5 separate regions of the Homo sapiens genome follow, and regions 1, 2, 4 and 5 are each linked to region 3. Evidence: promoter capture Hi-C in human tissues and cell types (Jung and others, 2019). All regions are on one chromosome and are shown on one strand. Each heading gives the region's core, a stretch centred on a gene start or on the middle of the fragment in contact. The rest is flanking DNA. Distances are from core to core; before and after follow the strand shown.

Region 1 (2,700 bases), core at 107-2,606, 310 kb before region 3:
TTTTTTTTAAGGTTGAATAACATTCCATTCCATTGTATATATATAACATACTCTCTTATCCATTCATCCATCAATGGACAATCTAGGTTGCTTCAACCTCTTGGCTATTGTGAATGATGCTGCAATGAACATGGGTGTACAAATATCTGTTCAAGATCGTGCTTTAAATTCTTTTAGATATATACCCAGAAGTGGGATTGCTGGATAATGTACTAAACCTATGTTTAATTTCTTGGGAAACCTCCATGCTGTTTTCCATAATAGCTGCACCACTTTACATTCCCATAAACAAGACACAAAGGTTCCAGTATTTCCACATTCTCACCAACACTAATTTTTTCTGTTTTTTGGATAGTGGCCACCCTAATGAATATGAGATAATATCTCATTGTGGTTTTGATTTGTACTTCTCTAATCTTTTCATATATTTTTTGGTCCTTTGTAAGTCTTCTTCATAGAAATATTCAAGTACTTTGTTTATTTTTAAGTTAGATTATTTGGGTTTTTGGTTGGTGGTGAGTTACAGAACTTTTTATATATTCTGGATACTACCCCCTATCAGATATATGACTCATAAATATTTTCTCCCATTCTGTAGGTTGCCCTTTCATCTTGTTGATTATTTCATTTGATACGCCTAAGTTGTTAAGTTTGATGTACTCCCATCTGTCTTATTTTTCCCTACGCTTCTGGTGTCATATCCAAGAAATTATTACAAAATCCATTGCTATGAAGTTTTCCTCCATGTTTTCTTCTAGGAGTTTTGTAGTTTCAGATCTCATGTTTAGGTCTTTGATACATTTTGAGTTAATTTTTTTATACGGTGTAAAGTAAGGGTTCAACTTCATTCTTTTGCATGTGGATATCCAGTTTTACCATTACCATTTGTTGATGAAACCGTCCTTTCCTATTGTGTAGTCTTGGCACCCTTGTCAAAGATCATTTGACCATAATACAACGGTTCATTTCTGTTTCATTCTGTTTCTTATTCTGTTTCATTGGTCTTTATGCTAGTCCCACACTGTTTTTTATTACTATAGCTTTGTAATATGTTTTAAGGAAATGTGAGCTCTCCAACTTTTTCCTTCTTTTTCAATATTATTTCAGCTATTCAGAGTCCCTTGAGATTTCATATAAATTTTGGGATTTTTTTTCTATTTCTGCCCAAAAAATGCCATTGGGATTTTGTTACAAATTGCATGGAATCTGTAGATTGCTTTTGAGTAATATGGCCATTTTAATGAAAATAAGTTTTTCAATCCATGAACACGGAATGTCTTTCTATTTGTTCTTCTTTCATTTCTTTCAATGTTTTGTAGTTTTCAGTGCACAAGTCTTTCACCTCCTCAGTTAAGTTTATTCCTAAGTATTTTATTCTTTTTGATGCTATTATAAAGAACTTTTTAAAATTTCCTTTTCGAATTGTTCATAGTTAATATATAGAAATTACTTATGTGCGTTGACTTTGTATCCTGTAACTTTACTGAACTCGCTTGTTAGTTCTAACAGTTTTTTGGTGACATCTTTAGGGTTTTCTATATATATGATTATGTTGTCTACAAACAGACACAATTTAACTTCTTTCTATCCAATTTAAATGCTTTCTATTTCTTTCTCTTGCCTAATTGCTCTGGCTAGGACCTCTAAGTGGGCATCCTTGCCTTGTTCCTGATTTCAGAGAAAAAGCTTTTAGTCTTTCACCATTGAGTAAGATGTTAGCTGCGGGCTTTTCATATAAGGCCTTTAATATGTTGTAGTTGTTTCTTTATATTTCTAGTTTGTTGAGTGCTTTTATCATGAAAGGGTGTGGAATTTGTCAAGCGCCTTTTCTGTATCAATTGAGATGACGCTGTGGGTTTTGTCCTTCATTCTGTTAATGTGGTATATTACACTGACTGACTTTCATATGGTGAAGTATCATTGCATTCTAGGAATAAGTCACACTTGGTCATGTTATACAATCCTTACCATGTGCTGTTTAATGCTTTTTGCTAGTATTTTGTTAAAGATTTTTGCATCAACAGTCATCAGGGATACTGGCCTCTAGTTTTCTTGAAGTATCTTTGTCTAGTTTTGGTATTAGGGCAACACTGGCCTCATAAAATTAGTTTGAAAATGTTCCTGGATCTTCAGGTTTTTAGGAGTTCAAGGAGGACTGATGTTAATTCTTCTTTACATGTTTGGTAGACCACTAGAGTGAAGCCATCTGGTCCTGGGTTTTTCTTTAAGATTTTTCAATTATCATTACAGTTTTGATCTCCTTACTTGAGGCAAGTCTGTTCAGATTTTTTTTTATTTCTTCATGATTCAGCCTTGATAGGCTATATGTTTCTAAGAATGTATCTAGGTCCTCTAGGTCATCCAGTTTGTTGGTGTATAATTGTTTGTGGTATGCTCTTTTTTATTTCTGTGGCATAAGGTGTAATGTCGCCTCTCTCATTTCTGATTTTAGTTATTTGAGTCATCTCTCTTTTTTCTTAGTTAATCCAGCTAATGGTCAATCAATATTATTGCTGTTGTTTTAAAAAACCAAGTCTTGGTTTCATTGGTTTTTCTATTCTTTATTTCATTGATTTTTGCTCTGATCTTTATCATTTCCTTCCTTCTGCTAACTTTGAGTTTAGTTCATTCTTCTTTGTCTAGTTCCTGAAGATGTATAGTTAGGTTGTTGCTTCAAGATTTTCTTTTTTAACCTAAGTG
Region 2 (2,700 bases), core at 122-2,621, 480 kb before region 3:
GTCTGCAAGCCAGGAAGAAGGCCCTCACCAAGAACCAAGTCTTTCTGCATCTTTATCTTGGACCTCCCAGTCTCCAGAACTGTAGAAATAAATGTCTATTATTTAAACCTCCCATTCTATGGTATTTTGTTATAGTGACCTGAGCTAAGCAAAGCCCAAGCAAGAGATGGTGTGGTCCTGGACTAGCTAAAAGGTTTTTCTGTATGTTTTAGAACTAGATTCAGCAGGATTTTGGTGACTAGGCTTGGGAAATGAGGAGGAGAGGTCAAATATATCCTCAAAGTTGTTAACATGGGTGGCTGGGAAGATGGTTGTGTTAAGATTGGGAATACAGGAGGAGAAGCAGATTTTGTGGAGAACATAATGAGTTCAGTTTTGGACACTTAACTTTGAGGTGCCGCCAAGTATTTGCTTAGACGTGTTCAGTCAGCTGATAAAAATAGATGAGTAAAAGCTCCCCAAGGCCTCCCGAGAAGCTGAGCAGATGCTGGCACATTCTTCCTGTACAGCCTGCAAAACTATGAGCAATTAAACCTCTTTTCTTATTAAATTACCCAGTCTCAGGTATTTCTTTATAGCAACACAAGAACGGCCTAACACAAGTGTACTTACACAAAGCTAGATGGTATAGCCCACTACACTGGGCTATATGAAATAGCCCATTGCTCCTAGGCTTCAAACCTATACAGCATGATACTGTACTGAATACTGTAGGCAGTGGCAACACCATGCTAAGTATTGGGTGTCTACATATACCTAAACATGGAAAAGCTACAGTAAGGGTACACTATAAAAAATTTAAAATGGTGCACCTGTATAGGGCATTTATACCATGAATGGAGCTTGCAGGACTGGAAGTTGCTCTGTGAGTCAGTGAGTGAGTGGTGAGTGAATGTGAAGGCCTGGGACATTACTGCACACTACTGTAATCTTTATAAACTCTGTAGACGTAAGCTACATTACATTTATCTAGAAAATAATAAATTAACTTACAGCCTTCAATAATAAATTAACCTCAGCTTACTGTAACTATTTTACTTTATACATTTTAAAATTGTTAAAAGCTTTTTGTCTCTTTTGTAATAACACTTAAAACACAAACACATTGTACCAATGTCTGAGAAATATATTTTCTTTATATACTATTTTAAAAGCATTTTTCTATTTTTAAAATTATGTATTTTCTTTACATTTTAAACTTTTTTGTTAAAAACTAAGATACAAACACAGACTAGCTTAGGCCTACACAGAGTAAGGACAATGAATCTCACTGTCTTCCACCTCCACATCTTGTCCCACTGGCAGGTCTTCAGGGGCAGCATGGAACTGTCATCACCCATGCTAACAATGCCTTCTTCTAGAATAGCTCCTGAAGTAACTGCCTGAGGCTATTTTGTAGCTAACTTTTTTCTAAGTAGGAGGAGTATACCCTAAAATAACGATTAAAAGTATAGTGTAGTAAATATATAAACCAGTAACATAGTTTATTATTATGATCAAGTTTTACATACTGTACATAATTGCATATGCTAGACTTTCATGTGGCTGGCAGCACAGCAGGTTTGTTTACACTAGCATCACCACAAACACGTGAGTAATGCATTGTGCTACGACTTTCCCACGGCTACAACCTCTGTAGGTGGTGGGAATGTTTTAGCTTCATTATAATCTTATGGGACCACCATTCTATATGTGGTCTGTTGTTGACAGAAAGGTTGTTATGTAGTATATGACTGTATATTCGTCCCACGGAGGTCAAAGGGGAGGGACTTAAAACGTTTGCCGAAAATAATTTAATCTAAAATTTAAAAAATAATTGATTTTGTCAAGTGTTTCAAAGATGTCCAGTAATTAGACGGAGGGGAGGGGAGGGGAGGGGGAAACGGGGATAGCCTTGACTATCCCCGTAAGTGATGAATAATCTAAAACATTATATTTTATTTTAAAACAATTATGAATATATCATAGAGCAGAAGGAAAGGTTAACATAAATTTTAAAGATTAAGAGGAGAATTCAAGAAAAAGTATTTTCAGGTACATTTAGAGCTAGAGCCCAGCAGCACGCAACCTTCTCTTCTGCCACTAGGGGCACTGTGCTGGGAAAGTCTGAGGCAGCGCCATCTTCCTGAGAAGATGCTCAGAAACCTCAACTGAAGAAACTACTCCGTGAGCCTAAATACCAACCCAGGAATTTAGAACAATCTTGGTCATCCAGCGACTTTTTTTTCTTTTTAGAAAAGGGAAATTATTGAGGGAAATTTAGGATTTTGCAGGAGTCATGAATCTTACTGGTTCCCAGGATTTCTTTTATTTCTTTAGAGGGAAATTATTCGGTTGTACAAAACACCTTTTAACAATAAGCCTATAAAGGAAAAGAAACATCCTCCCATTTGGCTGAGAATTCAGATAAGTGGCACTCTGTTCCTCTTGTCAAGTCATTCCAGTGATTGTTTGATCAGTAGTGACTTAGCATACTTTGTCTAAAAATATAGCATATCCTCATTCTCTGGGATATGCTATGTATTTGAAATTTTTGAAAATTGGCCACTACCATTTCAAGACCTTTTTCTCTACAAAATATATATGGTTCCTTAACTTGTCACTTCTTTAAGCGAAAACCCAGAGCATCCACACGGCCCCTGTGGACAGTAGTCATCAGGACCTCCGTTTCCTCAATGAGTTGGGCTAGATGATCTCTAC
Region 3 (2,700 bases), core at 126-2,625:
AAGTACGTGCACCTACTGAACCTAAGATGTGTATTGTGCAGGTACACACAACTTTGGTTACACGGTTCTTTCCAGCTTTGAAAAACTTTCTTAGGGGTAGCTCACACAGCTAAGTGCTTCAAATTACAGTTTCTGACTCCAGAGCCAGTGGTCTCTCCACTTCCCCTAGTTGCCTCTCTACAAATAATCACGTATGGGTCTCTTTAACACATTTCTTCCTGTTCTTCTAGGAATTGTAGCCATATCCTAGCCCTAAATGAACTGGAATACAGTGAGGCTTGATTTATTATTAAACATTTTTATTAGACTTTTTTTTTTTTTCGAGAAGGACTCTCGCTCTGTTGCCCAGGCTGGAGTGCAGTGGTGCGATCTCCGTTCACTGCAAGCTCTGCCTCCTGGGTTCAGGCCAGTCTCTTGCCTCAGCCTCCCGAGTAGCTGGGACTACAGGCGCCCGCCACCACGCCTGGCTATTTTTTTTTTTTTTTGTATTTTTAGTAAAGACGGGGTTTCACCGTGTTAGCCAGGATGGTCTCGATATCCTGACCTCGTGATCTGCCCGCCTCGACCTCCCAAAGGGCTGGGATTACAGGCATGAGCCACCGCTTCCAGTCTTACTAGACTATTTTTAAGAACAGTTTTAGGTTCACAGCAAAATTGAGCTAAAGGTACAGAGATTTCCCATGTACCCCCTGCTCCCACACATGCATAGCCTCCCCCATTATCAACATCCCCCACCAGAGTGCCACAGTTGCTACAATTGATGAACCCACATTGACACCTCATAATCACCCAAAGTCTATAGTTTACATTGCGGTTCACTCTTGGTTTTGTACATTCTTTGGGCTTGGACAAAGGCATCCGCTATTACAGAATCATACGCATAGTAGTTTCACTGCCCTAAAAATCCTCTGTGCTCCCGCAAGTCTAGGTTTTTAAGGGCGAAAAGAGAGGGAAAGAAAAAAGTGTGCATTGCAGAGGCTCGACCCAACTCCAAGCCAAGTTTGTTCCAAAGTTCAGCAGCTCCCAGCTGTCCCATCTCTCCCAGTTCGGCCCCGGTCGGGTTCCTCCTCTTTTTGTTTAAGTGTCAAACAAATGGGTTTCCTGTTGACACTGGAATATCGTGAAAAGGCAGGAAGAGGCCAGGCCACCTCCTCTTTCCCCTCTTCCTATCCCGTTTATTTATTTTGCACACGTTTGTTTGGGTCGAGCTGGTGTTTCCAGCGTGTGTGGCTGTGGGGCGGCCTTAGGGGCCGATAACCCCTCCCTGAGGAGGCGAGGCCAGCCCCGAACCCGCCCGATCCGCGGTGGAGCTCTACGGGGCGGGGAAGGCAAAGAGGAAGGGGGAAGAGAGCGGGAGTGGGAGTGGGAAAGGCCAGGGATTAAGAGGCCGCCGGGACGCCGCAAGGAGGCGGGGAATCGGCTCGGCCCGCGCCCTGCCGCTGCCCGGCCGGCTGCAGGTGGAGTTCGCGGAGGTGGCCATTTCCACAGCCGCCGCCGACGCCTCCTCTCCGGGAGCCGCCTTCCCCCCGGCCCGAGGGCGGTGGCGTGGGGCGCCGGGTGCAGGCGTTCTGGGGCGCCGGGGCCGCAGCTCGCTGGCCATCCCGCGGCTGCGCCCCGCGCCTCGCCCATGGCTGAGGGCCGGCGGCGGGAGGACGAGGAGGAAGAGCTACGCGAGCGCCGCGAACTTGGTGGCCAGCGCCGCGCCCGGGGCCGTGCGCTCTCGGGCCACTCGGCCGCAGGTGAGAGGCGCGGGGGACGGGGCGGCGGGGACCCAGAGCTGCGCGCTCTGGGGCCGCTCGGGTCCTGCCCCACACAGCGGCAGCTCCTTCACGCGCCGGGATGGGACCGGCTTCTTTAACTCTCAGAGGCCAGACTCGGGGAGGGTGGCATTTCCATCGCCATCCTCACTTTCCGGCCGAGCCCGAGGAAATTCAGACCCGTCTTTAACTGCTAGTGGTCGTACAGCTGAAACTCAAATTTTCCGTGCACACTAAATCCAGGAGCTGCTGGCTTGGGACTTGTGGCCTGGTTGATGACTTATCTCTGGATGAGTCAGAGGTCAATGGCCGTCTCGGTGGACAACGACACCTTCCGAGGGGTTTGCCTGCGCCGCCGCAGCCAGGTCAGAGCACGTGCTCATAACTGAGGCAAGTCCTGTTTCGGCGTCCCTTGCACTTCGGACCTGTGACCCCCCTCCCTCCCTCCCCCAGCCGCCGAGCTCACCAGTTTTCTGTAGGACTTGTTTTCGTTAGTTGTGAGACCCTCCCCCACGCAAAGAGAAGTCCAGAATATAGCATTCCAAAAGGCCATTCATTTGGGCTGAGAATCATTTTCGGGCCTGTAATTACTTTTATGATACTGTGTTTTGGGTACACAAAAGCGGCACGGATCAAATAGTTTGGCACATTAGTGAAAGAGTGAATAAGTGTAGATCCACACCCCTTCCCTCTTCCGGGCGGCTTTTCAATCAAACATAATAGAGAGGACATTCTTTGGCCTTTGGTTCCAACTGGGTAATCCGAGTTATCTGAAAACAAGAGGGAAGAACAAACCTAGGGGGACTGGCAACAAAAGGGAGATAGGGAAGTGAGAGAGTCGGAGGAGAACGATTCACTGAGAGCCTCATTATAAAGTGGAATATAGCGAATATTCCATGAAGTGGAGAAGCTTTTCTGTGTGACTCCCTTAACCACTAAGAGA
Region 4 (2,700 bases), core at 46-2,545, 290 kb before region 3:
TAATGTGTCTGGGTGAGTGTCTGTCTAATTCTAGGGTTAAATATTGGGAATGTTTGCCCACAGGAGTAAACCCTATTCTCTGGCAACAGTTTTACTGGTAATAAAGATGGTGTTTTGATCTTCCATCTGCCTCATTTTTTGTATTTCTCAACTTGTCACAACTCAGATGGGGAGGAGAGCCCTTTATACCTCAATTAAACTATACTGACTTTTCTGAAACTGCAGTACAGATCCTCAGCCGTACAAATTCAGTTTCCACTGATTCACATAAATGCTTTATACTCTAGACTGAGTGCTTCAATGAAATGGAACTGTATTCTAGACACTGCCAACTGATGGCAAATGACAGAAGGGACACCAAGACAAACTCATGGCAACACACGGGCAATCCTAACAGAGAACCCTGCACAGGAAATTCTAAATTGTAGTTGGGTCCCTACCACCCTCCTGTCACCCATTCTGGCATCTCCTCTTCCCAACTTCCCAATAATCTAAACTTTCCTTTTCTGGGTGTCCAAACTCCACACCAAACCATGACACCAGGTGTGACTTATGGCCAAAGTAATCCCCAAATTATATTTTCCCCTCTCCTCTACTAACCCCCTGTCCACACTGTTTACATAAAAAATCTGTATTGTAAGCCCTCTGAGTTAAACAGCAGGATGTACACAAAATGAGTAATCAGTGAAATGAACTATTCTAGAGAGTGACTGCATTTTAAAGGATTAATATGTGATGAGACTCTAAATTATAACAGGTTGACTATGTGAGGATGAAAATTCTGAGTATACCCTTCCCAGATGAGCCTCTGTCAACACCCCCTTGCCATCCCCACCAAAGGCTAAGTGGACATACAGGCCATTATCATCAATTACTACCACTATTAATAGTAGTTCCAGAAATAGCTACCATTTATGAAGTACCAGCTCTGTGCCAAATATTGTATTAGATGTTTTACATGTATTATACAAATTAATTCACCTTGATAGAGTAAAATGGTAGGTAGGTATTAGGATTCTCATCTTACAGCTAAGAAAAGTGAGGCTCAAACTTTTGCCCTAGAAGCACACAGTAAGTGGCAGAAGCCAGACACAAACCTAAGTCTACCTGATAATAAATTTCATGGTTTTTACAAGAATTCTAACAATTTCCTGGCATTTTTGTCCCCTGCCCTCTGAAAACACAGCAGAAATCCTTTGAAATTGAATATCTGTATCAACCATTTGGAACACGTCGTCAAAGACACTGTCTCCCATTGTAAGAGTTCAATTGATGGCGTTTTAGAGGATTTATAACCACTCCCTGCCCTTTTACCTCCCTGCCATCCTTCTGCCAACCAATTCAGCTACATTTGTCAGAAGAAAGCTGTTCCCAGTGACAGATCAGGACTTTACTGCAGAAAACAGCTTCTGCAGAGAACTCACAGAGCACCCTACTCCTGGAAACCACAGAAAGAGGTGAAATTCATTATTAAAATGATAAGAGGGGGAAAAAAGCTTTATGTGAAAGACTCCCACTTTCCTACTGTCACTGGGACAAGGGCCAACAATATAGAATCAATGCTCTCAGATGCGTACAATTATGACAATACATTAAGCTGCCACTCAGAGAAGCATTAACTTCTGGCCCTTACCGCTCCTGGCAATCCCTGAAAGTACTCACATTCCTCAAACCTGGGTCATATACAGGGACTGACTCCACCAGCACCTCTGAGAGATGTAAAAATGGAGTCATTTAGACACAATAATAACTTCATTACTCTAATCACAAAACAGTGCAATTCCTGCTCCCTGGGCCCCAGGAGAATACTGGTTATCAAATATGGATCTCCAATATTCAAATAATTTAAAAGCCAGAAAATATACACCAGACTGCCAAACTTGATTTGAAATTCAAGGTTCACAAAACTTTTTTTTTTTTTTTTTTGAGACAGAGTCTCACACCGTGGCTCAGACTGGAGTACAGTGGCGTGATCACCGCTTACTGTAGCCTCGAGGTCCCAGGGTCAAGCAAATCTCTCACGTCAGCCTCCCGAGTAGCTGGGACTACAGGTGCATGCCACCACACCTGGGTGATTTTTGTATCTTTTGTAGAGACAGGGTTTCATCATGTTGCCCAGGATGGTCTTAAACTCCTTGGCTCAAGCAATCCTCCTGCCTCGGCCTCCCAAAGTGCTGGGATTAGAGGCATGAGCCAGCATGCCTGGCCTTATAAAACTTTTTTTTTTTTTTTGAGATGGAGTCTTGCTCTGTCACCCAGGCTAGAGTGCAATGGCACAATCTCAGCTCACGGCAACCTCCACCTCCTACGTTCAAGTGATTCTCGTGCCTCATCCTCCCGAGTAGCTCAGACTACAGGCGTGCGCCACCACACCCAGCTAAGTTTTGTATTTTTAGTAGGGACAGGGTTTCACCATATTAGCCAGGCTGGTCTCAAACTCCTGACCTCAGGTGATCCACCCACCTCAGCCTCCCAAAGTGCTGGGATTACAAGCATGAGCCACCGCATCCAGCCTGCAAAACATTTTTAAGAATATCTTGTGGCAGTGGTTCTCAACCCAAGTTCCATGTTAGAATCACCTGGGGAGTTAGTTAAAAATACCCATGCTCATGCCCTATCCTGATCCAGTTAAATAATTATCTCCAGGTCTAGTGCCAGGCATCCCTTGTTGCTTCTGATGTGCACCAGGCTGTGGACCAC
Region 5 (2,700 bases), core at 64-2,563, 320 kb after region 3:
ACAGTTTTGGCTATTCTGGGCCCTTTGCATTTCCATGTGAATTTTAGGATCAGCGTATCAATTTTTGTAAAAAAGCAAGCTGGGATTTTACTAGCTATCATGAGTAGATATTATTGGTTATATATTAATATTAATGATAATTACAAGAAATTTGGGTGAATTGGTGAAATTTTAAAACTTCAAAGTTTCCTGGAAGTGACAGACTTGATAATTTAGGTTCCTGCAAGCATACAGTTTTGTTGACCTTTGAATTGATTTATTTTAAACTGAGAAATCATTTGGGAACTGGAAAATCAGATTTTTTTTTCCTGTTTGTGAATTAATAGAAAAACTAAGTAAGCTTTTTATTTCTCATACTGACCTAGTTGAACTAATCTATTATATTCACTTTTTATAAAGCATCCCTTTTCACACACATATTCTTGAAAATATTTTAAAATAGTTTTTATATGGTTGAAACAGAAATGTCCACAATGCATTTTTGTTTTATAATACTTATATAGATGTACAATAAGGTATTTTATTTATCTTTGTATCTCCAGAACTTTTTGAAGTGTTTTGATACTTCAAAAGTGTTAAATGGAAATGTCTTAATTTTTAAAATAAAAGTACAATCTTTAGGAAGCCTAGTTCCTATTATTCTTTTATTTTTATTTTATTTAATTTTATTTTTTTGAGACGGAGTCTCCCTCTGTCACCCATACTGCAGTGTAGTGGCGTGATCTCAGCTCACGGCAGCCTCCGCCTCTGGGTTCAAGTGATTCTCCTGCCTCAGCTTCCCGAGTAGCTGACCACCACTCCCTGCTAATTTTTGTATTTTTAGTAGAGACGGGGTTTCGCCATATTGGCCAGGCTGGTCCCGAACTCCTGACCTTAGGTGATCCGCCTGCCTTGGCCTCCTGCAGTGCTGAGATTACAGGTGTGAGCCACCATGCCCTGCCCTATTATTCTTTTCCGCAAAAGATATATTGTTAAAACCTTGATGCATATTTCCTTTATTATTTTGTTTCCTATGAAGTTATTTGTTAGGCAGTTTGTATTTTTCATTGTACAATTTTGAATTACTTTAGTCTGTTTTACCCTTAAGAGAACAGTGTTGCCGGGCATGGTGGCTCACGTCTGTAAGTCTGTAATCCCAGTGCTTTGGGAGGCCGAGGTGGGTGGGATCACCTGAGGTCGGGAGTTGGAGACCAGCCTGGCCAACATGTTCTCTACTAAAAAATACAAAATTAGCCAGGCGTGGTGGCGGGCACCTGTAGTCCCAGTTACTAGGGAGGCTGAGGTAGGAGAATTGCTTGAACCTGGGAGGTGGAGGTTGGTGTGAGCTGAGATTGCACCACTGTGCTCCAGCTTGGGTGACAGAATGAGATTACGTCTCCAAAAAAAAAAAAAAAAAAAGCCTGGGTAACAGAGCAAGACTCTGTCTCCAAAAAAAAAAAGAACAGTGTCATTATTTTCAAAAGTCTCTTATAATCTACTCTGTATAGTTTTCTAGTATTCATTCATTAGCTCTCATCTAATGTGGTATATACAGGGTTTTTTTTTTTTTTTTTTTTTTTTTTTGAGTTGGAGTCTTGTACTGTTGTCTGGGCTGAAGTGCAATAGTGCGATCTTGGCTCACTGCAACCTCCGCCTCCCGGGTTCAAGGGATTCTCCTGTCTCAGCCTCACTGGGATTACAGGCGCCTGCCACCACCCCTGGCTAATTTTTTGTATTTGTAGTAGAGACAGGCTTTCACTATGTTGGCCAGGCTGGTCTTGAACTCTTGACCTCATGATCCGCCCACCTTGACCTCCCAAAGTGCTGGATTACAGGCGTGAGCCACCGTGCCCGGCCATTACAGGGTGTTTTATAATCTTGGATTCTGAACTAAATTTTTGTGGGATTTTATTTGTGGGAATCCTGTGTAGATTAGTTTGTGTAAGTTTAACATCTTTCTTGACTATTTCTTGACTATTTCCCTCTCCTCCACTTCTTATCTTTTTTCCCTACCTTCTTTCTTTCTTTTTTGAGTCGAAGTCTCGCTCTGTCGCCCAGGCTGGAGTGCAATGGCATGCTCTTGGCTCATTGCAACCAACCCCTGTCTCCCAGGTTCAAGTGATTCTCCTGTTTCAGCCTCCCGAGTAGCTGGGATTACAAGGCTCATGCCGCCATGCCTGGCTAATTTTTTGTACTTGAGTAGAGATGGGGTTTCACTGTGTTGCCCAGGCTGGTCTTGAACTCCTGAGCTCAGGCAATCCACCTGCCTCGGCCTCCCAAAGTGCTAGGATTACAGGCGTGAGCCACCGCGCCCAGCCGTTACCTTATTTCTTAACAGATTTATCTTCTAATATATTATGTAACTTAATATATTTTGCTTTTTGTCAGTTTCTGTCCATTACAAGAGTACCCTGCCTTAGTCACATGTTAGCTTTTCCCAGTTTCTATTACCTTCCGTTAACCATGGTCTGAGAATATTAAATGTAAAATTTCAGAAATAAACCATTAGTAAGTTTTAATTTGCATGTTGTTCTGAGTAGTGTGATGAAATCACTCTCTGTCCCACCAGGATGTGAATCATCCCTTTGTCCAGCATCATGCTGTATGTATATGCTACCTGCCTGTTAGTCAGTTGCCGTCTCCGTTATCAGATTGATTGCGGCAGTATTGCAGTGATTATATTCAAGTGACCCATATTTGTACCTAATAGTGGCCCCAAAG

Evidence for each region. Contacts are between HindIII fragments. The study calls those that stand out against the background at their distance.
Region 1: a fragment that was not itself captured here is called in contact with the fragment with the promoter of SH3D19 in region 3 in 2 of the 25 tissues and cell types used here (dorsolateral prefrontal cortex and thymus).
Region 2: a fragment that was not itself captured here is called in contact with the fragment with the promoter of SH3D19 in region 3 in 2 of the 25 tissues and cell types used here (IMR-90 fibroblasts and mesendoderm cells).
Region 4: a contact is called between a fragment that was not itself captured here and the fragment with the promoter of SH3D19 in region 3, in 10 of the 25 tissues and cell types used here (H1 embryonic stem cells, IMR-90 fibroblasts, dorsolateral prefrontal cortex and 7 more).
Region 5: a contact is called between a fragment that was not itself captured here and the fragment with the promoter of SH3D19 in region 3, in 1 of the 25 tissues and cell types used here (aorta).

What each region holds. Positions count from the first base shown.
Region 1 is chr4:151,632,858-151,635,557 of GRCh38, reverse strand. The region is part of intron 8 of FHIP1A (FHF complex subunit HOOK interacting protein 1A); the gene reads right to left. Among named protein-coding and RNA genes, the nearest start is that of GATB, 130 kb to the left of the region's middle. The HindIII fragment of the contact is 3,452 bases long and covers 1-2,700 here.
Region 2 is chr4:151,801,172-151,803,871 of GRCh38, reverse strand. The region is part of intron 2 of LOC127898557 (a long non-coding RNA gene); the gene reads right to left. The region is part of intron 2 of LOC105377488 (a long non-coding RNA gene); the gene reads right to left. Among named protein-coding and RNA genes, the nearest start is that of GATB, 42 kb to the right of the region's middle. The HindIII fragment of the contact is 4,331 bases long and covers 1-2,700 here.
Region 3 is chr4:151,324,280-151,326,979 of GRCh38, reverse strand. SH3D19 (SH3 domain containing 19) reads left to right here and starts at 1,375. Exons shown (of 20, transcript NM_001378122.1): 1 at 1,375-1,739. The coding sequence starts at 1,628. The HindIII fragment of the contact is 31,894 bases long and covers 1-2,700 here.
Region 4 is chr4:151,613,695-151,616,394 of GRCh38, reverse strand. The region is part of intron 7 of FHIP1A (FHF complex subunit HOOK interacting protein 1A); the gene reads right to left. Among named protein-coding and RNA genes, the nearest start is that of GATB, 150 kb to the left of the region's middle. The HindIII fragment of the contact is 4,766 bases long and covers 1-2,700 here.
Region 5 is chr4:151,004,301-151,007,000 of GRCh38, reverse strand. All of the region lies in intron 2 of LRBA (LPS responsive beige-like anchor protein), which reads left to right. Among named protein-coding and RNA genes, the nearest start is that of LRBA, 9.6 kb to the left of the region's middle. RefSeq lists an enhancer at 2,291-2,700. The HindIII fragment of the contact is 8,064 bases long and covers 1-2,700 here.